Linked DNA regions of Homo sapiens: all the other regions are linked to region 4. Evidence: promoter capture Hi-C in 16 types of primary human blood cells and fetal thymus (Javierre and others, 2016). All regions are on one chromosome and are shown on one strand. Each heading gives the region's core, a stretch centred on a gene start or on the middle of the fragment in contact. The rest is flanking DNA. Distances are from core to core; before and after follow the strand shown.

Evidence for each region. The method cuts DNA at HindIII sites, captures the fragments that hold promoters and counts their contacts. A CHiCAGO score of 5 or more calls a contact.
Region 1: a fragment that was not itself captured here is called in contact with the fragment with the promoter of OXSM in region 4 in 1 of 17 cell types (non-activated CD4 T cells); the score reaches 8.2 in non-activated CD4 T cells.
Region 2: a contact is called between a fragment that was not itself captured here and the fragment with the promoter of OXSM in region 4, in 9 of 17 cell types (total CD4 T cells, naive CD4 T cells, activated CD4 T cells and 6 more). The highest score is 13.4, in total CD4 T cells.
Region 3: a fragment that was not itself captured here is called in contact with the fragment with the promoter of OXSM in region 4 in 3 of 17 cell types (naive CD8 T cells, naive B cells and activated CD4 T cells); the score reaches 11.7 in naive CD8 T cells.
Region 5: a contact is called between a fragment that was not itself captured here and the fragment with the promoter of OXSM in region 4, in 5 of 17 cell types (total B cells, total CD4 T cells, non-activated CD4 T cells and 2 more). The highest score is 10.4, in total B cells.
Region 6: the fragment with the promoter of NKIRAS1 here is called in contact with the fragment with the promoter of OXSM in region 4 in 8 of 17 cell types (non-activated CD4 T cells, naive CD8 T cells, total CD4 T cells and 5 more); the score reaches 23.1 in non-activated CD4 T cells.
Region 7: a fragment that was not itself captured here is called in contact with the fragment with the promoter of OXSM in region 4 in 5 of 17 cell types (activated CD4 T cells, naive CD8 T cells, total CD4 T cells and 2 more); the score reaches 19.3 in activated CD4 T cells.

The regions. Positions count from the first base shown.
Region 1 is chr3:23,792,561-23,796,073 of GRCh38, forward strand. No RefSeq gene overlaps it. Among named protein-coding and RNA genes, the nearest start is that of UBE2E1, 12 kb to the right of the region's middle. The HindIII fragment of the contact is 4,856 bases long and covers 1-3,513 here.
Region 2 is chr3:23,887,434-23,890,952 of GRCh38, forward strand. It overlaps UBE2E1 (ubiquitin conjugating enzyme E2 E1), which reads left to right. Exons shown (of 6, transcript NM_003341.5): 4 at 134-266; 5 at 1,679-1,826; 6 at 3,076-3,519. The coding sequence ends at 3,173. NKIRAS1 (NFKB inhibitor interacting Ras like 1) reads right to left here. Exons shown (of 5, transcript NM_020345.4): 5 at 2,518-3,519. Among named protein-coding and RNA genes, the nearest start is that of NKIRAS1, 28 kb to the right of the region's middle. The HindIII fragment of the contact is 551 bases long and covers 1,339-1,889 here.
Region 3 is chr3:27,728,713-27,732,334 of GRCh38, forward strand. No RefSeq gene overlaps it. Among named protein-coding and RNA genes, the nearest start is that of EOMES, 8.2 kb to the left of the region's middle. RefSeq lists enhancers at 1-443, 444-1,373, 1,374-2,305. The HindIII fragment of the contact is 4,662 bases long and covers 1-3,591 here.
Region 4 is chr3:25,787,414-25,791,413 of GRCh38, forward strand. OXSM (3-oxoacyl-ACP synthase, mitochondrial) reads left to right here and starts at 2,677. Exons shown (of 3, transcript NM_017897.3): 1 at 2,677-2,734; 2 at 3,577-4,000. The coding sequence starts at 3,608. It also overlaps a transcript of NGLY1 not described here. RefSeq lists enhancers at 2,156-2,685, 2,825-2,894, 2,905-2,974 and a silencer at 2,503-2,722. The HindIII fragment of the contact is 1,038 bases long and covers 2,011-3,048 here.
Region 5 is chr3:23,828,808-23,832,317 of GRCh38, forward strand. All of the region lies in intron 3 of UBE2E1 (ubiquitin conjugating enzyme E2 E1), which reads left to right. Among named protein-coding and RNA genes, the nearest start is that of UBE2E1-AS1, 24 kb to the left of the region's middle. RefSeq lists enhancers at 603-1,032, 1,952-2,161, 2,682-2,731. The HindIII fragment of the contact is 6,760 bases long and covers 1-3,510 here.
Region 6 is chr3:23,914,374-23,918,266 of GRCh38, forward strand. NKIRAS1 (NFKB inhibitor interacting Ras like 1) reads right to left here and starts at 2,617. Exons shown (of 5, transcript NM_020345.4): 1 at 2,411-2,617. It overlaps RPL15 (ribosomal protein L15), which reads left to right and starts at 2,759. Exons shown (of 4, transcript NM_002948.5): 1 at 2,759-2,800; 2 at 3,477-3,658. The coding sequence starts at 3,487. RefSeq lists enhancers at 2,221-3,020, 2,272-3,471, 3,401-3,500. The HindIII fragment of the contact is 19,179 bases long and covers 1-3,893 here.
Region 7 is chr3:23,811,879-23,815,666 of GRCh38, forward strand. The region is part of intron 3 of UBE2E1 (ubiquitin conjugating enzyme E2 E1); the gene reads left to right. Among named protein-coding and RNA genes, the nearest start is that of UBE2E1-AS1, 6.9 kb to the left of the region's middle. The HindIII fragment of the contact is 7,557 bases long and covers 1-3,788 here.

The DNA of each region.
Region 1 (3,513 bases), core at 644-3,143, 2.0 Mb before region 4:
GATACCGTAAACATAACCTTTAAAAAAGAAACTGTGGCCGGACCTGGTGGCTCACACCTGTAATCCCAACACTTTGGGAGTCCAAGGTGGGTAGATCACCTGAGGTTAGGAGTTTGAGACCAGCCTGGCCAACATGGTGAAACCCTGTCTCTACTAAAAATACAAAAATTAGTGGGGCATGGTGGCGTGCACCCGTTGTCCCAGCTACTAGGGAGGCTGAGGCAGGAGAATGGCTTGAACCCAGGAGTCATAGGCTGCAGTGAGCTGAGATCGTGCCACTGCACCCCAGCCTGGGTGACAGAGCAGACACCATCTCAAAAAATAATAATAATAAATTAAATAAATAAATAATAAAATTAAAATAAAGAAATTGCATGGTCACTTTGTTTGGGTATAATTGACCAACCATCTTGATTCAAAAACCAAGATTAAAAAAAATCCTTTAAAAAAAAAAGGACTTTTTTTTAAAAACAGAAACAGCAGAATGGATCCTTCCAGAACCACATGGTCCCTTAATATTGTTTTAGGACCAACTAAAGCTATTTGGAAATCAATATTTAAACATTTTTATGAAGTGAGCCATATGTCAAACAGGACAAAAGGAGTAGAATTGTAAAGAAGAAAGCATAGAATAACTGTTTATGGTGTTAGTTCCTATGTCTATTTGCCTCTAGGCAAAGTTTTTTTTTTATTATTGTTGATGTGATTCCTTTTATTCTGTTGTCAGTACCACTAGAGCAGGTACTTAATAAATGATTCTGATTGTTACTTTATATTCATATTGCATGTCTCACTTTAAGTACCTATTTGTTTTACGGTTATTAAAGTAATACAGTAGCAGCAATGGAAGTCTGAAAAACAGAGAAAAACAAAATAAAAATGTCTTCTCCATCCTCTAATACAACAACTGGTACTTCTGGGTCATTGCTTTACTTTTGTATGATACATACGATTTCCTACGGAGTCTCTGCAGCCAGGCTGGCTGGCTTTCCATCCCACCTCCCCCTCTTACCAGCTGTTTGACCTTGGCCAAGTTGCTTGAACTCTCTGTGGCTCAGTATCCTCACCTATACAATGGAGGTGATAATAGTACTCATCTCTCATGGTTATTGTGGGGATTAGCTGAAATAGTGAGTGGCAAGCTCTTGCACAGGGCTTGACATAGTGATTGCTCAATAAATGATAGGTATTGGTGGTGGTGTTATTATGATGTTGCTGTCATCGTCTCCTGTGGTTTTTATCATACCTTGTGAAGTTAGAGAGACTAGTATTAGTTTTGTCTCTCATAGAAAACTGATAAAAGAGGCTAAATGATGTTCACAGTTCCAGCTTCAGCTCCAGTGGTGGTAAGACAAATGAGAAATGGTAGATATTGCTCCTTCTCAAGAGACGGTTTTTAAGTGGCAAGCAGTCATCACTTCCTGATGTGATACAATGGGACATACACAGTGTCACTTATGCTATGACTTGACTATCTTGCCAAAAATGTGTAACTGGCATCGAATCACGCCTTACTATGAAACCCTAAATTATAAGACATAGAAGAGATAGAGTTCCTCAAAAGAGAAGGTTGCAGAAAAAAAAGAAAAAAACTAGAAAAAAAAAAGAGATAGAGGGGTCATGTTAAATGGTAGCGTGTAGAAAAACAATCAAGCTAATCCAGAATGTGGGACATTCTGCAATACAAACTAGCCATACATCTTTTCAACAAGTCAATGCTACAAATAAAAGAAAGGCAAAAGAGGTGGAATAATTGGGGTTTGTTCTAAATTAAAAGAAACATAACAGGCCCAGTGTAGTGGCTCATGCCTGTAATTCCAGCATTTTGGAACGCTGAGGCAGGTGGATTGCTTGAGGCCAGGAGTTCAAGACCAGCCTGGGCAACATGGCAAGATCCCATCTCTATAAAAAATACAAAAATTAGCTGGGTATGGTGGCTCACGTGGGTAGTCCCAGCTATTTGGGAGGCTGAGGTGGAAGGATCACTTGAGCCTGGGAGATCGAGGCTGCAATGAGCCATGTTTGTGCTGCTGCATTCCAGCCTGGGCGACAGAGTGAGAGACAAAACAAACAAAAGCAGTGTTCATGATCTTTAGTAGAATAGTGATTTGAACCTAAAAGAAAATTAGAGAATTAAATATGGACAGAATATTTATACAATACCAGGGACCTATTGCTAGTTTTGTCAAATGTGATAATAGTGTGTCTAGCTTTTGAAAAATCATGTTGAAGAATTTAAGGGTAAATTATCTTTTTTTTTTTTGAGACACAGTCTCGCTCTGTTGCCCAACTGGAGTGCAGTGACACAATCTCGGCTCACCGCAACCTCCGCCTCACAGGTTCAAGCAATTCTCCTGCCTCATCCTCCTGAGTAGCTGGGATTACAGGCTCATGCCACCACACCTGGCTCATTTTTGTGTATTTAGTAGAGATGGGGTTTCACCATGTTGGCCAGGCTGGTCTCAAACTCCTGACTTCAGGTGATCCGCCCACCTCGGCCTCCCAAAGGGCTGGGATTACAGGCATGAGCCACTGTGCCTGGCTGGGTAAATTATCTTGATATCTATAATTTACATTAAAATGATTTAGCAAAAAAATGATTTGAAAATTTTTGATAATAAAAAGTAAACAAAATTTAAAAGAACCATTTTAGAAAGCAGAAGTTATGTGTCAAAGTTGTTCAGGACATGACCCAGCACAGTGCCATATCCAAATGTCCATTTGGTGATGGTGACACACAACACAGCTCTGCCTTCCACATCTTACACAATTAGGAGTTCATGTACATTTCATGAGGAGAGGACACAAAAATCCTACATTTAAGGGGGAGAAAACACCCCACCTTATACTCCTAAGGAAAACCTCTTTAGCCATTCCTACAAAGGGTCAAACCTAAATTCTCTAGTTTGGGGGCCTGTGTAGCACTTAGATGTGCAATAAATAAATGATAGGATAAAATTAATAATATGGGTTTATAATATAAACACATTGGAACTGTAAGTACTTTAAAAAAAATCAGAGCATAGTTAATAGTCTGGGTAAAGATTGATTCACAAGCAGAGACAGAGCTAAGAAAAATCTATAGGATTTGAATTCCCAACTCTAGGATCTGCACTAAGCCACTCATTTACAAGTGAGAAAGTTTGGGGAGAGTAAATGTATTCACCTCCCAGTTCATAAAATCTTTATTTTACTTTCAAGCCAAGTTTGAGAAAAATCACAAGTTTTCATTTTATTCTCTAGCAGTTTCCAAAAATAACATCTTAAATATATACCTCATAGACCAACCCACCACCCCAAAGATTTATTTTAAGCTAAGACACAACTGGAACCAAGTGAACTCTCAGCACTGGAACATAAATCTCAGTGTTAGAAAGAATCCTCATCTATCTTTCTATACTAGTCACAGATACACTGGTACCAAGGAGTGATCGAGAAATTGGGGGTACTGGCTTTTTTTTTTATTATTTGAGGGTTTCTGAATAGAAATCTTAACTTTTTATAATTACGAGA
Region 2 (3,519 bases), core at 364-2,863, 1.9 Mb before region 4:
GTACTTGTTTTGTAAAGAGAATCCACACAGTAAACAAAAGAGAGGAGAGAGGTAATCTTTCCATCTCTTTTAATACACTGTAAAAATTGGGATAGTGCCACCATCTGCTTATTTGTTGACGTATTATTCACAGTGCTGGTCCCAAAGGCGATAACATCTATGAATGGAGATCAACCATTCTAGGGCCTCCAGGATCCGTGTATGAGGGTGGTGTATTCTTTCTCGATATCACTTTTACACCAGAATATCCCTTCAAGCCTCCAAAGGTAAGAAATCTCCCTGTATGCTCAAATTTACTAATTCCCACAAGAGAGCAACTGTTGAGGTTTTTCTAAATTTAATTTTTAATCACAGAAACTAGATTTATCTTATGTCCTAATAGATCTGAGTATTTTAACATATACAAAACACTTCTTTAGGTTGATTTTGCCTTATCTGGCAGAGACCATTCTAGGATTAAGTGCTTTGTTTTGATGGTGCTTAAAATTGTGCTATTTATAGTAATATTGTCAGCAACCTAGAATTAATCCCCTGTTTTCCAGCCCATAGAGAAATGTTTTTGAACCTTTCTCGAGGTTAAAAATGGTGTCAAGCCAGGTGCAGTGGTGTGCACCTGTAGTCCAGCTACTTGGGAGGATTGTTTGAGCCCAAGAGTTTGAGTCCAGTCTGGGCAACAAAGCAAGACCCCAAAAAAAGGCAGGGCAGGTCAGGGGGCCAAACAACTAGAGAATCAGAATCTCTTCCCAAAGCTTTGGATTCTGTTGTGCTCCCTGTCATGTTTTGGTCTTGTTCCTTTACCTCCAGGCCTCAGTTTTCTTTCTAGGACAGGTGAGGATTGCCCAAGTCACCCATCTCCTGTACTCAATCTATGATTCTCATTCAGTCAGAAAGAAAACCCCGTCTTGGGGATTAGGTAGACTGCCAGATAAAAGTACAACTGCAGCAACAAGAAGTAATCGAAAGTCACTTTTTTAAAAAATTGGTAAAATTACAGGTAATTTTTACTTTGTGTTTTGGTATATTTCACAAATAAAAATTAAGAGACCCAAATAACACCAGCTTATGTGACTTGTGTTCTGCTGTGGTCCTTGCCCATTACTGGCTCTGCATCCATGGACACTCGATTATATAATAGTAAATTCTGTGATGTAGGTAGACAGGATGTCTATAGGACCTGATGTAACGGTCAGAAAAAAGCAGAAATAGACTTCTCTTCAAATTTTGTTCAGCCTTTTGGGTGTAGTCATTGTTTGCTAAGTATGTTGTTTAATTATCTTTATGTACCCATTATGTTGCACTTCAGTTTTTAAGAGGTATTTATGATTCTCAGTATTTTAAAGCTTACTTTGAGGCAGTGTAGTACTACCAGCTAACACAAGAGGTCAGCAAACAATTAGCTATTCAAACTTGGAAATGTTAATATTTAAAAGATTTAAAATTGCTAAAGATGAAATTAGGAAGTACTGAACTTACCGTCAGTGGACATAACATTTTAAATGAAATTGACACAGTCCCTGAGATGGTATCAATGAACACTTTCTAATCAAATTTATTGTCTATCTTCTTGACAGCTTTAATTAAAACTGCTTTTAGTCACCTTCTTAAGGGTCATTCAGTTGAATATTTAGTAACAAGTTTGTTTGCTGTTTAAATATTGTCTGTCACTTGTTTTTTTTAGGTTACATTTCGGACAAGAATCTATCATTGTAATATTAACAGTCAAGGTGTTATTTGCTTGGACATATTGAAAGATAATTGGAGTCCAGCACTAACCATTTCTAAAGTCCTCCTTTCTATCTGCTCACTTCTTACAGACTGTAATCCTGGTAAGGTTCATAATTCTTTACCTTGTTTTATTCTTCCTTACCTGAAAAATACTTGTTTCCAAAAGCTTTCAAAGGACAAAACTAATTTTTCTGCACAAGTTTGTGAATACAAAAACTAATCGGCTTTTCAAAAGAAAGTTTTAATCAAGTTCAGTCTACTAGTTGAGACACACAACTTCATTAATCAGTATATTCTAGCAACAAGGTATTTTAAACTGAAGACTGACGTAAGTTTGCCTTGGGCTTTTAGTTTCAATTATTCTTCCTCCTTTTTTTTTCCTGTTGCTTAATTTCCCATAGAGTTCTTATAAAACAAATCAGACACTTCTAAATGTCGAGTCATCTGCCTGGCAAGCCTCACCTGTGCCTCTGGGGTTCAGTGAGCATGTGTCCCATAGCTGGTCACTGAGATGGCACTCAATTTTGAAAATGGTAGTTGTTAAATACTTAGTGACTATTGAATTGTGACTTTTTTGGGACTTCATTTCATTTAAAAAATATTTTTCTGTAGTCACAGCTACTAGGGTGGCTGAGGTGTCAGGATTGTTTGAACCCAGAAGGTCAAAGCTGCAGTGAGCCATGAGCATGTCACTGCACTGCATTCCAGCCTGGGTGGCAAAGCGAGACCCTGTCTCAAAAAATATATATATATACACATATGTATATATATACACACACACAGACAAATATATTTTCTAGGTAAACCAAATATAAATTTATTAAAGATCCTAAGATTCAGAGAAATACTATACTTAATTGGAGGTCCAGGTTTTGCCTGGCAACCTGGCTCTTTAACCAGCGTAAAGGTTAATAGTGTTGCACTGCAACAGCCCCGAAGACTTCACAGTATTCACAATGCCGTTAACTGGTGACATTGAGCTAAGGGTCACATGAACACAGCTGGATGTTCATTGCAGTCTGAAGCCTTGACCGTTCCAGTCTCTACTGAACTCAGCCTAACACATAAGAGTAAAGAAACTCCAATTGAGTGTTGTTTGTTGGGAGAAAAATGGAATGAACTAAGATAAAGACAGACCAGTACACTAAAGCCTAAGCATTCCCTCTTCCCCCAACGTTATGTTTTTTTGAAATTTTGATGGAAAAATATCCAGCATGGTGGAGTGGTGTTTCGAAGATGGGTTTGATCACACATACTTTGTCGTACGTATCTACCCAAGCTGTCACTATTCGCTAAAGTTTAAAATGTTCTTTTCCTTTCTCCAAAGTAATCTACATTCTTTTCTTCCAGCCGACCCCTTGGTGGGAAGTATTGCCACTCAGTATATGACCAACAGAGCAGAACATGACAGAATGGCCAGACAGTGGACCAAGAGATACGCTACATAAATTGGGGTTTCACAATTCTTACATTATTTGTCTGTCACAGAAGAGAGCTGCTTATGATTTTGAAGGGGTCAGGGAGGGTGGGAGTTGGTAAAGAGTAGGGTATTTCTATAACAGATATTATTCAGTCTTATTTCCTAAGATTTTGTTGTAACTTAAGGTATCTTGCTACAGTAGACAGAATTGGTAATAGCAACTTTTAAAATTGTCATTAGTTCTGCAATATTAGCTGAAATGTAGTACAGAAAAGAATGTACATTTAGACATTTGGGTTCAGTTGCTTGTAGTCTGTAAATTTAAAACAGCTTAATTTGGTACAGGTTACACATATGGCCATTTATGTAAAGTC
Region 3 (3,622 bases), core at 11-2,510, 1.9 Mb after region 4:
AATAGGGTATTTAGCTCAGCTTTTGTTCTCCACCTACTTGGTTAAACGCCTGACCACGAAGGAGTTAAGTGAGTAGTCGGAAGCCTCCCGCAGGGTTCTCGCTCCAGGAGAAGGCACCCTTAACTGGATGTCCAGAAAAAGAGGCCATCTGGATCCACTCGCTGTGGGTCCCTGCGGGCCTCAGTGGCGGCATCTGCAAATTAAGGGGACAGAGCAAGTGCAGAGCAAGATCTACCGCAGAGAGCGGCTGTCGAGGGAAGTCCGGAGGAGGCCCCGAAGGCCAAGCCGGCCTGGGCTGCTTAATCACTCGGTAGGGGCCGGGACGGTCCCTGGAACTCCCTCCCCCCACAGAATATCAAGGAGCCATAGTAAAGGCGTATCCAAGGGGCAACAAAGAGCAGCTAGGATCATTTTTCCACCACTTAGGGCTGACTTTTCAAGAACAGAGTTTATCTGCAAATTCACAAAAGAGGAGAATAAGAAAAGCAGCAGCTGACTTTGCTCTGCTTTACTTGTATAATCTTTTAAAAGAAAAAGCACCCTAAACTGTTATAATCCCATTTTACAGAAGAGTAAAGTGATGCTTAGAGAGGCGAAGACCCTGGCTCAAAGCACCCAGCTGAAAATGGTAGCCTGGGGATGTGAATTCGAGCGGTCTGGGCTGCGGGGCTCCTAGTGGGGGGATTAAGTACGTGTGAATGGTGGCAGGGCTGGGTCATTGTTTTCTTTGGGGGGGACAGATGTAGGCTATGGAACGGGGACCCTGTGAGTCTTCGGAGCAAGCCAGTGAACGGCATTCAGTACCCATCTACAGCCGGTGGACCTTCAGAATGAGTCTCTGGAGAAAACCGGGCTCCATGACTCGGTTGCAAATCCCAACTTTGCGGTAGAATCGGTCATCCTTGCTTGGCATAATCATGACATGGGTTGTCCACTCTCTAAGTGCTGGGGCTGGGCCAAGCCCTTGGCATACATCATCCCATTTAGGCTCTCACTCCCACCTCTTGAAGGTAGGTGCTTTCAGCATCTTCGCTTTACAGTTAAGAAAATCCAGGCTCAGAGAGATAAAATAACTTGCCTGAGGTTACACAACTTGTGAACCTTAAGTCCAGGAGGACCTAGAAGATGGAGAAGGCGGTACCTTCTGCCTGGAACTCTGAAACTTTTAACAGAAAACTGATCCCTCGGTCCCGAAGAGAGAGGCGCGGCAAAGCAACAGCCAGTTCTCTCCCTCATCCCCTTCCAGATAAATTTCCTTTTCTCCTACTCCTCGCTGGGGTTTGCGGTGCCCCTGCCTCCTGCATGAAAGCGCGCTCTAAAGCTAGGGTTTTTGGACTTTAGGAGCGCTTCTCGCCTCCCCCTAGACGTTTGAAGCCTTCCAATTGAGCAAGGGCTGGGAAGCGAGAAGGCTCCTCTGGTCTCTCCCTCCTCTGAGCGCGGGACCTCGGCGGACACCCTAATCCCGAAACACTCCTCTCTGGGACTGCGCACTTGCCAGCACGACAGCCAACTCCGCCTCAGAGGAGTCTTTTAGGGCTCTGAGCGAGTGGCGAATGCTCCCCCGGTGATGCACTATCGCTCCCACCCACGCCCTGGTACGCGCAGCCCGGGAAAAAGAAAAAAAAAAGTCCACGTAGGGGCTCAAACCCAGGCGTCAGGCGCTGCAGTCAGGGAAGGCTCCCTTAGGGGCTGGGTTCCTGGCGCTTACGACGCAGAGAAGGATAAGGGCGATGGTTTCGCAATCCCACCCCCTCCTTTGTCCTCCTCCCCACCTCCCAGCCTTTGGCGGCTTAGATCTCCAAATGCAGTCTGGATGGCACTCAGGTATTCGAGCGCCCCAGTTTATCTTATCACCGCCCCCTACAAATACACATCCATTCCAGATTGGCTTCTGGGAAAAGATACGGGGGTAGGGGATCCCACATATTTCCTCTCACCCTCCCTCTTTGGTCCTTGACGCCGAGAGTCTTCTCTGTTTCTCCGTACCCTTAGGTCATCGTCCAGGGCAGAGGTTAATTTAGACATCTTGACTGCAACAACTGATAACACTTACATACATGTATGAATATATCAACAATACATTATATGTAGTATATATTATATAATATAAAATCAATATATACTTAACGTACTTGCATGAGTTAAAAAAAAAATACCCAGCAACCCAAAAGCCACCAGATTACCAACTCTTGCGCCTCCCAATTCCTCGAAGTGAAGGCAATCACTATTAGTTTCTCCTGTGTATTTCTGGGGCTATAATGTTATGTTTGCACCAGCAAGTACGTAAGCGCACCTGAATTTCTCTTTATCTGTCCCCCACCCATCTGCACGCTTTTATACACTTTATTAACCACCTTGCTTTTTTCACTTATAATATATCTTTAAGTTAGTTCCTTGGAGACGTCGGAGTTTTTGCTAGCTTGACATCCCGGGCTCACAACTGGCGGGAAATAGCTTAAAAATTATATTGATGCTTTGAGGCCTTTCCTTGCAGCTGCTTGCGCCCACAAGCTGCAGTCCTTTCCCCGGTCAGCAGCCGGCTGTCCCGCACCCCCCGGCAGAGCGCAGAGGGTCGAAAGATTTGCGCCGCAGAAGACGCAGCGTCCCCTTGCGCTGCGTGTGCGGAACCCCGCTGTGAGAGTTTCCCTTTCACTGAGACTCCTTCATTGTTTGTCCTCTGAGACCCCCAAAGCAGGTAAACAAGCACTGATACCCTGCCCTGTGATCAGAAGCTCTTGGGCCAGGGAGCGATCTGCTAGATGGTCCCAGTGCTGCCTTAGGTCAGATCAAAGCGGAGGACCTAGAGGGAACCGTCAGCCCCATTAACATCCCGCTCTGCTTGCCAGCTGGGGCCTGAAGAGGGTTGGGCAGGTGTGGGCCAGGAATTGCTTGTTACCTAAGGTCCAGGGAGCGACCCCATCTGAAACACTTCCTGAATTCTCCTCGGCCCCAGTGGCAACTCTTGGAAGATGCTGAAGTTCCTTACATTTCTCAGAAGTCGCACTGTAAAATTCAGTTGATTCCACAATATTAGAAAACACTTGTTGACCTAGTATGTGTGTCAGACATTGCACGAGGTGCTGGGGTACAAAAGTGGATGATGTTGGATCCGGACAACATCAAGTCAGCAAATAAGAGAGTATCAGAATATCGAGGTATCAGTCAAACGGGGTAATGCGGTGGTTCCCAATCTTGGCTGCATATTAGAATAATCTGGAGAGTTCTTAAAAATCCTAATGCCCAGGTAGCACCACGGAACAATTAAATCAGAATTTCTGGCGGTGAGACAAGGCATCAGGATTACTTAATGATCCCCAGGTGGTTCCAATATGCAGCAAACTTATGGGTTGGTGGAGGCTCTTTATGGAGAGTTGACATTTGAGCTGAGACAGCAATAGGGAGGTGGCAGTCAGGAGAAGGCGTGTGGGAACACCCCGCGACCAGCCCTGAGTCTGCTGATGCTCTGGGATTGGCAGTGGGGGAGGGAAAAAGAGGACATTTGACAAGTAGAAGGAAATATGTGATGCAGAGCATCTAGTCACAGTTCACTGCATCCCTGGGAAGTCTCTCAATTGCCCAATTCCATAGGAAAGCTTTAAACAACACTAAAAAATATCTACCT
Region 4 (4,000 bases), core at 1,427-3,926:
CTTCCAACCCACCCTGCTCATTTGTGCAATAGTGATCTTTCTAAAGCACCCATCTGATCATGTTGTTCTCCTGGTAAAAAGTTTTCTATGGCTCCCTCTATCCACATTCTAAAGTCAAATGGTGTCAGGAACCAGGCTGGTAAGTTAAATATTTTAAGTGGCTTTGTTCAAGACAAAGAGGAGTAAGAGAGACTCCAGTGAAGGGAATGAGAGAGTTTACCATGTCCTTTCTAGAGGAGTTTAGAATCAATAAAAGAATGTTGCACTCCAAATTATACCATGAAGGCTAGCATATGGTCTCTGAACTACGGGATTAAATCCAAAGTCCTCAGTATGATACCCCAGGCTTTTGTGATCTGGGCCCTGCCTTACTCTCATGCGTTTACTGTTGCTTTGTCCCACACTTCAAATTTGACATGGGCCACATATTTAGCTGTTTGTGGAAGATACCATGACACTTCATTTCTCCAGGCCTTTGTTCTCCTCCTGCCAGGATGCCCTTTCCCACCCAATTTACTAGACAAACATTCATTTCCAAGATGCAGTTCAAGGATCATTTCTCTGAAGCCTTTTCTGACTTTACGAGGTAGCACAGACCTCATTGTCCCTTTTGTGTTATAATAATTCCACTATAGCACCTGTTTCAACAGTTTGCACTTACTTGTTTCTATGGGTGTCTCCCTTTACTAGACCATAAACTTCTTGAAAGCAAGAGCCATACCTCTACTCATTTTTGCATTCAAACTTCAAGCATTGATAGGAAGAAAATGAGTGGTTGTTGAAAATAGCAAAAGCACAGAGATGAGAAAAGTTAGGGTCAATCAAGACATGTATAGTGAGAAAATCAGTTTGCTGGGTGGCAAGCTCATTTAATAGAGAATGGGAGCCATAATTGGAAAGATAGTTTTGAATCAGATTACAAAGAATTTAAGGCAAACCTAGGAAGTCTTAATAGGAGGGTAGGATAAGCAGAGCCCATTTGAAGATTTTGGTGCAAGAAGACACGATGGAATTGTAGCAGGAAATATGGTACCAAATATGTAAAGCCATTAAATATCATAAAATTTCCCACCCTTTTCCAGATCAAAGAAAAGGTGATAAGAGGTAGATACAAAAATGATGGTCTTTTTATTTTTCTGAAAGATTTTGTCACCTCTTAGCCAAGACGATTTTGTGATATTACAAAAGAAATAGCACATTAAAACTGTATGTTTCTTATGAGTTCAGCTTCAGAGAAAATATTGTAGGTATTTTCACACTATTATTTTAAAGACAGCAATGAAAAGAGATCAAGTTTAGGTACTTACTCATCAAGTGTTACTTTATAACCACATGTGTTTGTTTTAATTCTTCAAGAAACTCTACTTTGTCACTGAATGAGGATCAACTAGAGGTGACTGGTTAGGCCTGGGACGAAGGTCAAACTGAGCTTTGCTGAATTATTTTAAACAAAATAGATTTCCAAACTCATTTAAATCCAGGACCAACCTGGAAAGCTAAGCTTGACTCACATTCTTCTGTAGGGGTAGGAAAGAATGCAGAGCACTCTACTTGGAAACAATGGCTTCAAGAGGCATTGCCCAGAAAAAACCATAAATATGACTAGAAGGTCCAGATGAAGATTCTATGCTCAACCATTTTTCTAAAGAAGAGCAAGGACAAAACTCACGCCTGGGATAGCATGTGAAAAACAGATGTTCGATGAATACCATCTTGTCGACTTCTTGCTTTTTTACATTTTCATGTTATATTTTCCCTTTATCGGTTTGCAGTCAGCTCTAAGCAAACAGTTAATGAATTTTTCACACTTAGAAACAAATGTCTCCATTGTGACAATGGAGACAATTTTTGAGCACTGTCTCAAATCTGGTGATAATTTTTTTTTAAGTGAAAGGAAGTTTATTAGGAAAGTAAAGGAACAAAGAATGACTACTCCATAGGCAGAACAGCCTGGTGACAACTTTTAAAAAGTAAAAACTTTATTACAAAAACATTTGTTTATTGTAGAAAAGCTTTATTAAATAAAGCTAAGCAAAAATAAGGAGGGAAAGATCACAATCAGTATACATCTTGCAGACCTTTAAAGAATTATTTTTGAAAAAACGGATATATACTGTTTTGTAACTATGTCTCCTAACAAATAGTCGCAACATCTCATTAATAAATATTCACCTGCAGAATTATTTTAAACGGCTGCATGGCATTTGGATGTACCACAAGATACACAACAAATTTCCTGATGTTGGCCATTTTGGTTAATTCCACTTTACTCACAATTACTAATAACGTTGCGAGCTATAGCAATAACTTTGAAACTGCAGAGAATTTCCTTAATTCTTTCTTACAATTCCAGTAGAATACGATGGTGTCCCTTCTCCGACAAAAGGGAATATTTGGGCATTATCACTGCCAAAGAAAAATGCCTTTTTGATGGGTGAAAATGCTACCTCATCGCGTTATTGGCAGGTCCTCGATTATCGGCGAGTCACTGAGGTTCCGAGAGGGGCGTCTCTGCTCACGCAAACAGCTACCCAGCCGCCTCCCACGGTCTGACCTCAGCCAAGGTGACGCGGCTTAAAGTCAACCGGCGGAAAGAGAGTCGAACGGGACGCGTGCGTGGGAAAGCGCATGAGCGTACGTGCGAGCGCGCATGAGCGTACGTGCGTGTGCGCGTGCGCTCGAGAGCGTCATCGCCCCCGACTGTGGAGAAGTGTCCGGGGTAGCCCCGTTACAGGTATCGCTGGCTACCCTCCTCCTTCGCCCCTCCTTTCCTCCTTTACATTCAAATCAAGTCGGGGTTGAATTTCGAGAGGGGAGTCCGAGGACCTGGGGCCTGATTTCTTTTTCTCTCGCCATGCTTCTTCGGGCTGTGTACATGTGTGGTGGTGCCTGAGAGGCGATACAGGGAATGGCTACACTCTTTTACTCCCGCCCCTGGCCTTCGTAGTACCCTTGAAGTGATCCACTAGTCGTAACCCCTCCTTCCACCAATGATTCAATTGGAGAAGTTTAGAGGAGTGGAAAGACTTGTCCCCTTCCCCCATCGCAAGCTTGGTCACAGAGTGTATTGCCAACCCATGTATCCAGACGCTCAGTCTAGGGCTCTTGGCCCTGGGTAGCGTTTTGAAAAGGCTGGTTATCCTTAAGTACTGAAGATTGATAAAGCCCACTTACTTACTTAAAAGAATATGCCCTGAAATGTGTTTTCTGTGCCACTGACACCAGAAATGCTATTTAGAAGAAGTTATCAGTAATCCTGACAAAGGATGCTTCCTGCAGCTCAAATCAGGCTGGAGGTGCCTTTATATTTTTCATTGAATTACTGTTTTGGTGACTCGAATGAATCATCAATTCATTTATTTGTCTTCAAATGTCTGACGGCACTTAAGGTCTAAAAAAGAAGGTAAGTTTAAACAGATAGTTTGATGTTAAGGTATAAATTGAAAGTATGTAACATTTTCCCTGTGTTCATTAGCAGCTCATATCAAGCACCCAAAGGAACACCTTGGATGTTTTTCCTTAGGCCCTTAAGCTATTTAAAAGAATACCTCCTAGGTGTGTTGTGGTCTTTTACAGGAATGTGTTTCTGATCATCTGAATCTTAATCATGTCCAACTGCCTGCAAAATTTCCTGAAAATTACAAGCACTCGTCTTCTATGTTCAAGATTATGCCAACAGTTAAGAAGTAAAAGGAAGTTTTTCGGAACTGTGCCAATATCCAGATTGCATAGGCGAGTTGTCATTACAGGCATTGGCTTAGTGACTCCTCTTGGTGTTGGAACTCACCTGGTTTGGGATCGTCTTATCGGAGGAGAGAGTGGAATTGTTTCACTGGTTGGTGAAGAGTATAAGAGTATCCCTTGCAGTGTTGCTGCTTATGTGCCAAGAGGTAGTGATGAAGGTCAGTTCAATGAACAAAACTTTGTGTCCAAATCAGATATCAAGTCCATGTCTTCTCCCACCATCATGGCCATTGGGGCTGCAGAATTAGCCATGAAG
Region 5 (3,510 bases), core at 760-3,259, 2.0 Mb before region 4:
CTAAACCTTATGTGATTTCAGTGTTTTCCTCAGATTTGTCTCACACTCTAGTCTGGTGATTTCCAGGCTTGTGCCTGTCCCAGCACACCTAAGGAAGAGGGAAAATGTCCATCAATAAGTAACAGGGGTTTACTTTCAGTGGACAGGGTGGATGGAAGGAGAGATTAGCAAATTTGGGGTGAAAAATAAAAGCCCTCCAGTGGTTCTGACAAGCTGTAGCTAGAGGGGGGTGGCAGTTGCAGAAGGGGCAGTTTCTCCGTCTTGTATTTTTTATTTTTTTCTTTGATTCTTGAAAATAAGTTCTTATTTTTGATAAGATGGAGGATTATTATTATTATTATTTTGAGACAGGGCCTCAAAAAAAAAAAAAAAAGAGAGGGCCTCGCTTTGTTGCCTAGGCTGGAATGCAATGGTGTGATCATAGCTCACTGCAGCCTTGAACTCCTGGGGTCAAGCGATCCTCCCACCTCAGCCTCCTAAGTAGCTGGGACAACAGGTGCACTCCACAAAGTCCAGCTTTTTTTTTTTTTTTAATAGAGACAGGATCTCACTATGTTGCCCAGGCTGGTCTGGAACTCCTAAGCTCAGATGATCCTCCTGCCTCAGCCTCCCAAAGTGCTGGGATTACAGGTGTGAATCACCACACCCAGACCCAGCTGTTTTCTAAATTTTTTTGGAGAGGTGGGGTCTTGCTGTGTTGCCTGGGCTAGTCTCAAACTCCTGGTCTCAAGCAGTCCTTCTGCCTCAACCTCCCAAAGCACGGGGTTTACCAGTAGCCTGAGCCCCCATACCTGCCCCTCTCCTGGAAAAGTGCTGAAGTGGGAAAGTTTACAGATTTAGGGAGTCCAAGGAAAAGGTTGAGGTCGAGCTAATAAGAGAAGGAGAAAGGAAAGAGGAACTGAGAAAGGAAAGGGGTCTAGAAGAGCGGTTAGAAATGGGGACTTTGGTTTTCCCCTCAGGCTTAGCTCACTACTTTCTATAAATAAGAGATGTCTGAAAGAGAAGCAGATAAAAGGAGAAAGCCTTCAGCAAATTTGTGAGTTGATAAGCATGGATTGATTGGCTCTGTTGGCCTGGGTTCTTGAGGAGTTTGCTGCTATTTCGGAATTTCTGTAGAGAAACCCTGGCATTGTCAGGATATGGGTATGCCACATGTTTCCCTTCCTCCCCCTTCCCTCCACTCCTTCTTATTACCTAGCTAGCTACACCTGGAATTTTGGTTCTAGAATAATTTAAAAGATACTTTGTCAAGAAAATATCTTTGGAAAAATCATGCATATATTATTTTTCCTTTTTTCTTTTTAACTACTTCCTGGTTCTTTAGGCTCCTCTAATTCTTACATGCATGTGCTTGATCTCTGGGCCATGCTTGCTTCTAGTTAAGTAGCCTTTCAGGATGGTGTTTAATTTATTCTGAGCCCTTTATAATATCCCCTGACAAGAGCATGGAGTGGATAGAGGGAGTCTTAGTCAATATGTATTATAAATAGATTTAGGGTTCACAAAGGTCAGCAGCCTTCATCTCTTGCCCTACCCCCATCACACACAAAAATAAAAATCACAAATAATAAAGGATTTTAAGAGTTATACCAGTCGGGAGTGGGTTCATTTTTTTGTTTTTGTTTTTGTTTGTTTTTGGCAAGCTGAAGTCATCTGTTGGATCCAAAAATGCATAAAAATCTTCAGGCTTATAGAACCAACAGCATCAAAGGAAGAGCAGTGTGACTCAATATTGGGGTGGGGGCAGGTTTGGGGTTTTGGTTGTGTAGAAGCTCCTTATGAGAGAACAGTGTGATGCTTGGAGCTGTGGAGAATCCAGCCACTGCTTTTTCTCTCTTCCTTACCTTATTACTCTTCTTGATTCACCTGGATGTGGAAACTGTCCCTGTTTAAGAGTGGCCTTGTCAATGCTCTCTGTGTATCATGTGTACAGTAGGGAATGTGTCAAGCCAGATGAGTGGTCTCATTGAAACATCAGCAAATCAGTATATCGTAGAATTTAGATCCCCCTTGGAGGTGGTGGTGATAGCTAACTTCTGTTGCGGTCTTAACTGTGGGTCAAGTTTTGTTCTAAGGACTTTGAACATTAGAAACTCATTTAAAACTTAAACCATTCCTGTTGGTGGTCATGTAATCCCATTTTACAGATTATGAAATCAACATTAAGGTTATGTGCAGCTTAGTAAGTGGAGAAGCCAGAAGAACCCACGTGATCTGGCTTCAGGGCCGATACTCAACCACTGTACTTTGGAGAGAATTAGTCATTCTGATACCACTTTTGTTATTAGCTAAGACTCTTTATGTTGCAGGTAACAGCAGTCTAATTAATTCATTTAAATAAAAAGATAATATTATAGGGATATTTGAGTGTGTGTCTGATAACCCAGGAACTGAAATGTTCTGGATATCAGAAACAACAGAAACCAGGAATTCTCTCCAACTCTCATCTATGCTCTCACTCCAAGTGCGCTTTATTTTTTCTCACATCGCAGATTGCTCCTGGCTGCCCACAGCCTGCCTGAAGAACATGACCACAGGCACCCAGAGAGAAACTTACTTTTGGCCAGTTGTAAAACTCTTGGGCGAGGGACCAGTTAGTCTAACTTGATTGAGTTTTGGATCAGTCAGCTATTTTGGTAATTAAAGTGAAAGGGTCCAGATGACACTAATATTGGGAGCTAGTTTGACAAAATATTTAACAAAATGAATACTTTTTTTTTTTTTTTCGAGACATGGTCCCACTCTGTTGCCCAGGCTGGAGTGCAGTGGTGTGATCACAGCTCACTGCAGCCTTGATGTCCCAGGCTCAGGTGATCCCCTCCCACCTTAGCCTCCTAAGTAGCTAGGACTACAGGCACGTGCTACCACACCCAGCTAAGTTTTGTATTTCTTTTTTTTTTTTTCTGTGAGACAGAGTCTCACTCTGTTGCCCAGGCTGGAATGCAGTGGTGCGATCTCAGCTCAGTGCAACCTCTGCCTTCCAGGTTCAAGCCATTCTCCTGCCTCAGCCTCCCAAATGCTGGAATTACAGGTGCCCGCCACTATGCCTGGATAATTTTTGTATTTTTTGTAGAGGCAGGGTTTCACCATGTTGGCCAGACTGGTCTTGAATGCCTGACTGAGCTCAGGTGATTCGCCTGCCTCCGCCTCCGCCTCCCAAAGTGCTGAGGTTACAGACATGAGCTACCATGCCCAGCCAAATACTTTTTTCTAAAGGAAGAAAACTTAGTCATTTATTTAGCTTTAATAATTGGCTTTTTGAGTTTGTTCAATACTTTAAGCTCTGTGAGCATATGGATCATGTCAGCCATCTAGCACAGGGTTTAGAAAACAGTAACTGCTCAAACTTTTGCTGTGAATGAATGAAGGAGCAAATGAATGATTTTCCTGAAAGGGAAATAAAAACAGAATTCAGTTTCTGATCATTGTCCAGGGAATGGCTTGGACACAAATAGTTGACCTGTTGGAAGAGAATATACATTTTTAATAAAGGAGAAGGGACTGTGTTTT
Region 6 (3,893 bases), core at 1,367-3,866, 1.9 Mb before region 4:
TTAACATCATAGGAGAGATGTTATAAATCTCTAAAAATACTGTCATGTGGGGAAACCACCTACACTGTGTATTTACTTATGTCAACATTATGTATAGTGTGGAATACTTTCACTTATCCATATATGAATATATTTACATACATAAAAATATATTCAACAGGTTTTGCACACAGTATTGCACAAAATAAAATGTAATAAAGCAGATTCTAGCTTACCATTCTTTTATTCATTTACCAAACATTTACTGAGGGCCTGCCATCATGCCAGCCATCAGGGACAAACTAGGGGGCAAAAACAGAAATCATCCCTTGTCCTCAGGAATCTCAAAATCAACTGGAAACACAAATCCAAATCTTGTAAAACTGTTAACTGAGAAACTACAAATTGAGAAACAAAACTGCAAATGTGATTGATAAATTAGCAGTGATTATTCACACTACTAGAATTGTTTTTCCAAATGATTCATCCAACTTTTTAAATTTTATTTTTACTGCTCCTTTAGGAGCAGGACTACGCCCATAGGCAGCGTACCTACAGTAGCACATTCAACTTTTTAGTCATCCTCACCTTTGAAATACATACAGGGCTGCACTACTTACCATTTTCATCACTACTGAAGTGGTCTGGGTGAGGCACCATGTTCTCTCACCTGGTCTCTCAAAGATATCGTAATCCCCCAAACCTGTGAATATGTTTACTTTACATACTCATACAAGAATTTTGCGGGGGTGATTAAATTAAGAACTTCCATACGAAGATATTATCCTGAATTATCTAGGTGGGCCCAGTGTAATCACAAGTGTCTTTATAAGAGACACACAGGAGTGCTGGAGAGGACAGAAGGTGTAATTGGAAGATGCTCCTTTGCTGGCTGTGAAGATGAAGGAAGCAGTCAGGAGCCAAGGAATTCAGGCAGGCTTCATAAGGTGGAAAAGCCAAGGAAATAAATGTACTCTCCCCTAGTACCTCCAGAAGGAACACAGCCCTACTGACTTTGGTTTTAGCTTGGTGATATTTACAGATTTACAGACCTAGTCTGATGTACAAACTAAAAGACGGTAAATTTGTATTATTAACCAACAAAGTTGCTGAAATTTGTTACAGGAGCAATGGAAGACTAACACAATTTCCTAAGCAGTCTCTCTGCTTCCATTTTTTCTCTCCTTTTAGCCTCAAAAGGAGCAATCCGAGTTATCTTTTTAAAATGTACGCCATATGAAGTCATCCTTCTGTTCAAAATCTGCCAATGAAATCCAAAGTCCATGTGAGAACCTTCACCTCTCCGACGTCATTTCCCACTTTCCCCTACTGTGAATTTCAGCCACACTGCTTCCCTGCTGTTCCTCTATTAATCTTGCATGCTCCAGTCATGGCTCTTCTCCCTCTGCCTGAATCAGACCCCTACTCTTACTCCCAGACTCCTATCCTTGAAGTCCTTTCTTAAATGTTACCTTCTCTCAAAGACTTAACCTGGACACTCCATTCCAAATTGCAACCCTCAGCCGCTAACACTCCCTCATCACTTCCCTCCCCTTATCTTTTTTCCTTAGCATTTACCACCAAACCCAAAACACAGCTTACTTCTGCTTACTGCCCATTTCCAAGAAGGCCAAAAATTCTGCGTTGTTTCCTGCTGCATCCCCAGCAACTATGCCTGGCACATATTAGACACTTAATAAATATTTGTTGAATCAATCAATGAACCAGATAGAGACTCTTAAAAACGTAAAGCTGTGATTTAAAAAGAAAGAAAGAAAAATATGATGTGGGAAAAAAGATAATCAAAACCGCTACGATTAAGAGATAATGATTCTCTTAAGCCTTTGCCACATCTGAACGCATAATCTGGAAGGAAATTAAAGCCACATGACTTAAATTAAAGCCAAGTGAAAATATTCTGGAGAAACAAAGTAAGCCAGTAACCTATTTCTCAATTTAAAAAAAAACCCGCAACGCAAAATGCCAGCATTTTCTCGGCATTTCTTCTCTAAAACATTCACACCTGCCAAACAGGTCTTGGCAAATAAACATTCTGCTCTTCTGAAAAACTGTGGTTCTCATGTTAGCAAATTTGGGACGAAATCCGTATGCAGAAAAAGCGCCGGGCCGCCCGCAATCCACCCACTCCATGACCCTTTTTTAGGACAAAATCCCTGGGCGCTGGGGCCTGCTGGAGGAGCTTCACGCAGTCTGGAGCTGAAGGGACACAGCGAGCGCCCCGACCCGCGACGCCCCGACTCCGCGAAGGCCTCCCTGGGAGGCTGGGGAAGCGTCGGGGGATCTCTCAGCGCAGCTCTGGGGCCCAGATTTCTGCGCCCGTCGTGCGGTGGCCAGAGAGGGACAGCGCAGCGCGGAGACGCGGAGACGCAGAGACTCCGCAGGGGGAGAGCCCGCGGTGCGTGAAACAAACCTGTTCTCTCCTCAGACCTCAAAGACAGCGGCTCCACCGCGGTACGCGGCCACCGGCTTTGGAGCCTGGACCCCAACTTGCCTCCTCTCGCGGAGAGACAGTCGCCGACGCTCGCTTAGCCGCCGAGACCTCGCCGCCAACTCTCTCACCTCTCGAGACGCCCAGGCCGCTCAGGCTCGAATCTTGCGGAGCAGGGGGCGGGACAATAGCGGCCGCGGCGCCCCACTCGGCAGAACTCCGCCACCAGGCGCGATGCCGGAACTACATGTCCCATGACGCTCTGGGAGGCCGCAGCTTTCCACCGGAAAGAGGGTGGCTGAGGTGGGGGAGGAGCCCAAAAGGCATTGTGGGAGTACAGCTCTTTCCTTTCCGTCTGGCGGCAGCCATCAGGTAGGCTGCGTTGAGGATCTTTGCTCTTCCATCCGCCTTTGATCGTCTTCCTCTTCAGCCATCCAGGTCCGGGGACCCTGCGTCCTCGGAGATAGGTCTCCCTCCTGTGCGGCCAGAGTTTGGTCAGGATGCGGGACAGCAAAGGGGTGGAGAGGCGGCCCCCGGGGCGGGTTGAGCGAAGATGTGATGGCGGCGCGAATTCGAGCTGGGCCCGGATCCTGGAGGAGGCGTGGGGCTGACGAATGGGGCGCCCGGGACAAGGCAGCCTAAAGTGAGGCTGCTGGTTGGGTGGGGTAGATGCATTTTCCTCGAGAGTTAATCCTCGGTGGCCGCAGCAGTACCTTGTCCTGTGATGTCAGCGGCATCTCCTTTCAGGTCCTCCTTGGGGACGCCGCCTGCCGCAGCCACCCGCCCCCTTGGTGCTCAGTTCTGGTTCTGTTAATTCGCCCCACCAAAACGTGCCGAGCACCGCTCTGTGCTGGGGTTGCGGAAGTGACTGAACGCGGCTCCGTGGGCGCAGTGGTGGGGGTTGGGCTAGCTGTCCCCGGCAGTTGGTGCAGAGCCATTTTCATTCCCGGCGGTTTCCTTGTTTTTGTTGGGGAACTAAGATGGACGGATACAGTCGTCTTATTGTACTTAAAGCGGATGATATTTAATACACAGTTTGATTTCACAGGTAAGCCAAGATGGGTGCATACAAGTACATCCAGGAGCTATGGAGAAAGAAGCAGTCTGATGTCATGCGCTTTCTTCTGAGGGTCCGCTGCTGGCAGTACCGCCAGCTCTCTGCTCTCCACAGGGCTCCCCGCCCCACCCGGCCTGATAAAGCGCGCCGACTGGGCTACAAGGCCAAGCAAGGTACGTGATCGACTGCGTGGATGCTTGGATAAAATTATATTCGAGAAAAGTTGGAAACCAGCTGTTAGGAAGACACTGCTGCCTCAGTGTCTTTCTTCGCATAGGGCTTTGGCAGAAAAAAGCTAGCAACACTGGTCAGTTACTGTATGCACTGTTGTCTAAAGTGGCAAGTGTGTCAAAGGTTACAAATCTGAATGAGTTCAGACTAAAGCAAAATAAACAGTGTGCCTCCCTG
Region 7 (3,788 bases), core at 922-3,421, 2.0 Mb before region 4:
CTCTTATTCAATCTCTGCTAAGCTAAGAGAACATTAGAGTTAAACACTGGATCTTCAAACTTACTCCATAGCATATAGATTTTTTATTAGACTTTTGGCAGAGCAATTCAGGAAACAATTTCTGGCTTTGATAAAGGTTTTCTTTTAAATTGTAGAGTTAAACTTTCATGGGGTGTTTTTTTCACTTGCTTTATTCAGACTGTATACATATGTGTGTTTCAGTTTCAAAACAAATTGAAACCAGCTTTCTAAGGGTTTGTTGATCACAGCTTTATTTAGAGAAGCCATTTTGCTACTGTTGAGTCAAGGTGGAAGACTTGATGACTTTACTAGATCAACAATGAAGTGAGGGTAACTTACAACTATGTATTAGAATAGAACCATTTATTTAAGGGAGGTCCTGTAACTCCCATACTTTAAAAATTAAGTATAACATTTAACCTAGTTCTCAAGATCGGCGTTGGAAAGGGATGTGAGATTTCAGAAATACTCTAAACTTATTGGTAGGAGTAGAAGTTACTGACAAAGTATTCAGCGGCTATACACAATTTTTAAGATGAGTGTGTGGGAATAGGTTGAAAAGCTAAATGAAGTATTTTGTTTAGTAACAGTGAACTTTGGAAACTAATTAGTGGATTAAATACAAAACTATTGCCGTTTTGGTTACATTCATTCTTAATGTTGATTAGGTGTGGGATGCTCTTCCGTGAAACTTTGTCCTGTTTTGTAAGGAAAGTCATTTTGAGTTTGAAATGCTCTTAAACTATAGTTTATAATTGGAACACTTAATCATTCTGGGGAATTCTTTCCTGGCTAATAATCTCTCAAGATGGTTGAGAAGTGGAAAAACCATAAGACTTAGGCCTAACTCATTATTTTGATGGTGGTGGTTCACGTGGAAGCCTGTAGCTTCCCTTGGTTGTTTGTGTGGAATCCATGTACATTCCCCAAGGTGGTTCTGTGCTGTCTAGTTATTGCTCCTGCTTGGTATTGTGTGTCTCCTATGTGTGTGTTATTAATAACATTGATTAAAACATATAATGGCTTTCTTGTGAATAAGCACAGTCAAATCTAAAATTGTAAACCATTTGAAGATTTTCATGGGATTAAGCATTTAAAAAAAAAAAACAGTGTAAGTACACTTCAGTTTCACATCGTTTTAACTGAGTTTATGTGTGAAAGATTTATGCTCCTGAGGCATGTGGAACTTTTTTATCTTTGGGAAACCCTCCCAATTACCCCTTCAAGGTGAAACGTTTGGGAATTACCTGTGGTCAGGGGATGCACCAAACTGGGTGGCTGTTGGGTGATTGGTGTTACGGAGTCAAAGCTCAAAATACTAAATTTTAAGAAAAATCTCTGATTTGAGAGAAAATACGAGGCATCTTCATTTTGCAAGAGAATGTATATTACATTGTCTTTTAACAATAAAGATGACTTTATTTTCTGAAGATATTTTCCAGTGGGGCCGTTTGAGTAATGTGAATTAAAATTTTTACTTTTGGTTGGCTAATGGTGCTGTCTTAATGTTATATAGTAGTCCCAATATTCAGCTCTCTTAAAAGAGTTCGGTTTTACGTTTTGTGCTGTTACCTTTTGGAATTTAATTATTTAGTATTTTAATGTACTTTATTGGAGATAAAGATGGATTATTTATTTATTTATTTATTTATTTTCTTTTTGAGACGGAGTCTTGCTCTGTAGCCCAGGCTGGAGTGCAGTGGCATGATTTCGGCTCATTGCAACCTCCACCTCCCGGGTCCTGGTTCAAGCAATTCTCCTGCCTCCTGAGTAGCTGGGATTATAGGCACGTGCCACCATGCCCAGCTAATTTTTGTATTTTGGGTAGAGATGGGGTTTCACCATGTTGGCCAGGCAGGTCTTGAACTCCTGACCTTGTGATCTGCCCGCCTTGGCCTCCCAAAGTGCTGGGGTTACGGGCGTGAGCCACTGCACCTGGCCTTGGGGATACTTTTTGAAGTCAGCGTCCAATGAAAATCTATGAATTAAGTGATATATTAAGTGCGTACATGTTTAAAATTACCCTCAGCATGAAAGCATGAGATTTGAATGAGTTAAATAATTGGTTTTCAATTAGTCTGTCTTATATTTTTACCCTTTGCCATACTTCCTTTCTTCAGTCAGCATTCAGTGTGTAGTTTTAAACACGTTATTAAAATATGGCACTTGGCACATAGTAACTTCTCAGTAAATACAAAAATTAGCCGGGCATGGTGATGCACTCCAGCCTGGGCGACAGAGTGAGACCCTGTCTCAAAAAAAAAAGTTGATTATTGCAAATCAGTAGAATTGCTCCTCTTGAAGGAAGGTGCACTGTTTGTGTTCACTAATTTTGGCACTTGGCAAAAATATTTGAAGTTACTGAGCATCAAAACTTATGTGAAATGCAATTGCTCAATATGTTATAATGTATGAAAACATAAAATTAAATTCTTAATGTTGTATATTATGTTGGGTGGATATTTTTTAGAACACAGTACAGATTGTGTTCAATGACCTGGTCCAAAGTCATTTTAAGTAAGTATTTTCAAACTGCTTTATGTTGCCATAGAAATCAAATTCTTAATTTTAGTATCTGTGATTTGTGTGTGTGTGTATATATATGCATACACACACACACAAAATAGTTTCCCAACTCACTCTTCATTTTGGTTAGGCTTTTATTCCCATATCATTTAGCTCTATTCTTTTAGGGAAAAAAATATGTTAACTTTGTAATGATTCCCTAAAGCGTGCCAGATCTTAGATTGTAAAATTATGCCTTTTAGATAGCTGATGAACTCTGGGCCACCAGAGTCAGTTTTGCAGCTGTTATTTATAGCCCAGGGCTCAAACTTTGCTAAATTGACTAGTTATAACTAGCCTGTAGACACGAATATCTGTAGACAGTATGTCTATACAGACTAAATGGCATATTTTGCCTAAGTCCTTTAAACTTCAGATTTTATTTAATGGATATATTTGTTTCATGAGTAAATGTCTCAGTGACTTAACCTAGAAATTCAGATGGGGTGCTATTTTAGGATAAAATGTCTGAAAAGTCATTAAACACTTCAAGCATGGGTGAGAATAATAAAAATACATTTCTTTCTTTCTCACTTTTTTTTTGAGACAGGGTCTCATTTTGTCACCCAGGCTGGAGTGCAGTGGTGCTCACTGCAGCCTTGACCTCCTGGGCTTAAGCTGTCCTCCTGCTTCAGGCCCCCAAGTAGCAGGAACTACAGGCGTTCGACACTACACTCGGTTAATTTTTTGTATTTTTTTGTAGAGACCAGGTTTTACCTATTGGCCAGGCTGATCTTAAACTCCTGGCCTCAAGCCGTCCACCCACTTTGCCCTTCCAGAGTGCTGGGATTACAGGCGTGAGCCATGGTGCCTGGCCCTGATACTAGTTTTTCTGTATGTGACAGAATTTCCATTTAGCCTTCTTTTGATAGCTTTTTTTTCCCTAACACTGCCTATATTTTAAATAGTTTTAAGCCATTATATTATACAAGAATGCATGTTTTTGAAAAATTCAAATACAGAAGTTTGTGGAGTAAAAGGCAAAAGATAGTCCTGATGACCTCTTCTGATCCTGCTCCTTGCACACAGATGCTCCAAGTTAGCACTTTGTATACTTCCACGTAGTTTCTGTGAATTTACATTGTGTTTTTCTGGCATTCCAATACCTCCTCGAATTGGTGGTAATGGTAATGAGATGTCAGTTCAGAAGTCCCAGGCTGCTCATCATGGTTCACAATGGAAAGAGATCCTTTTCTTGCAAC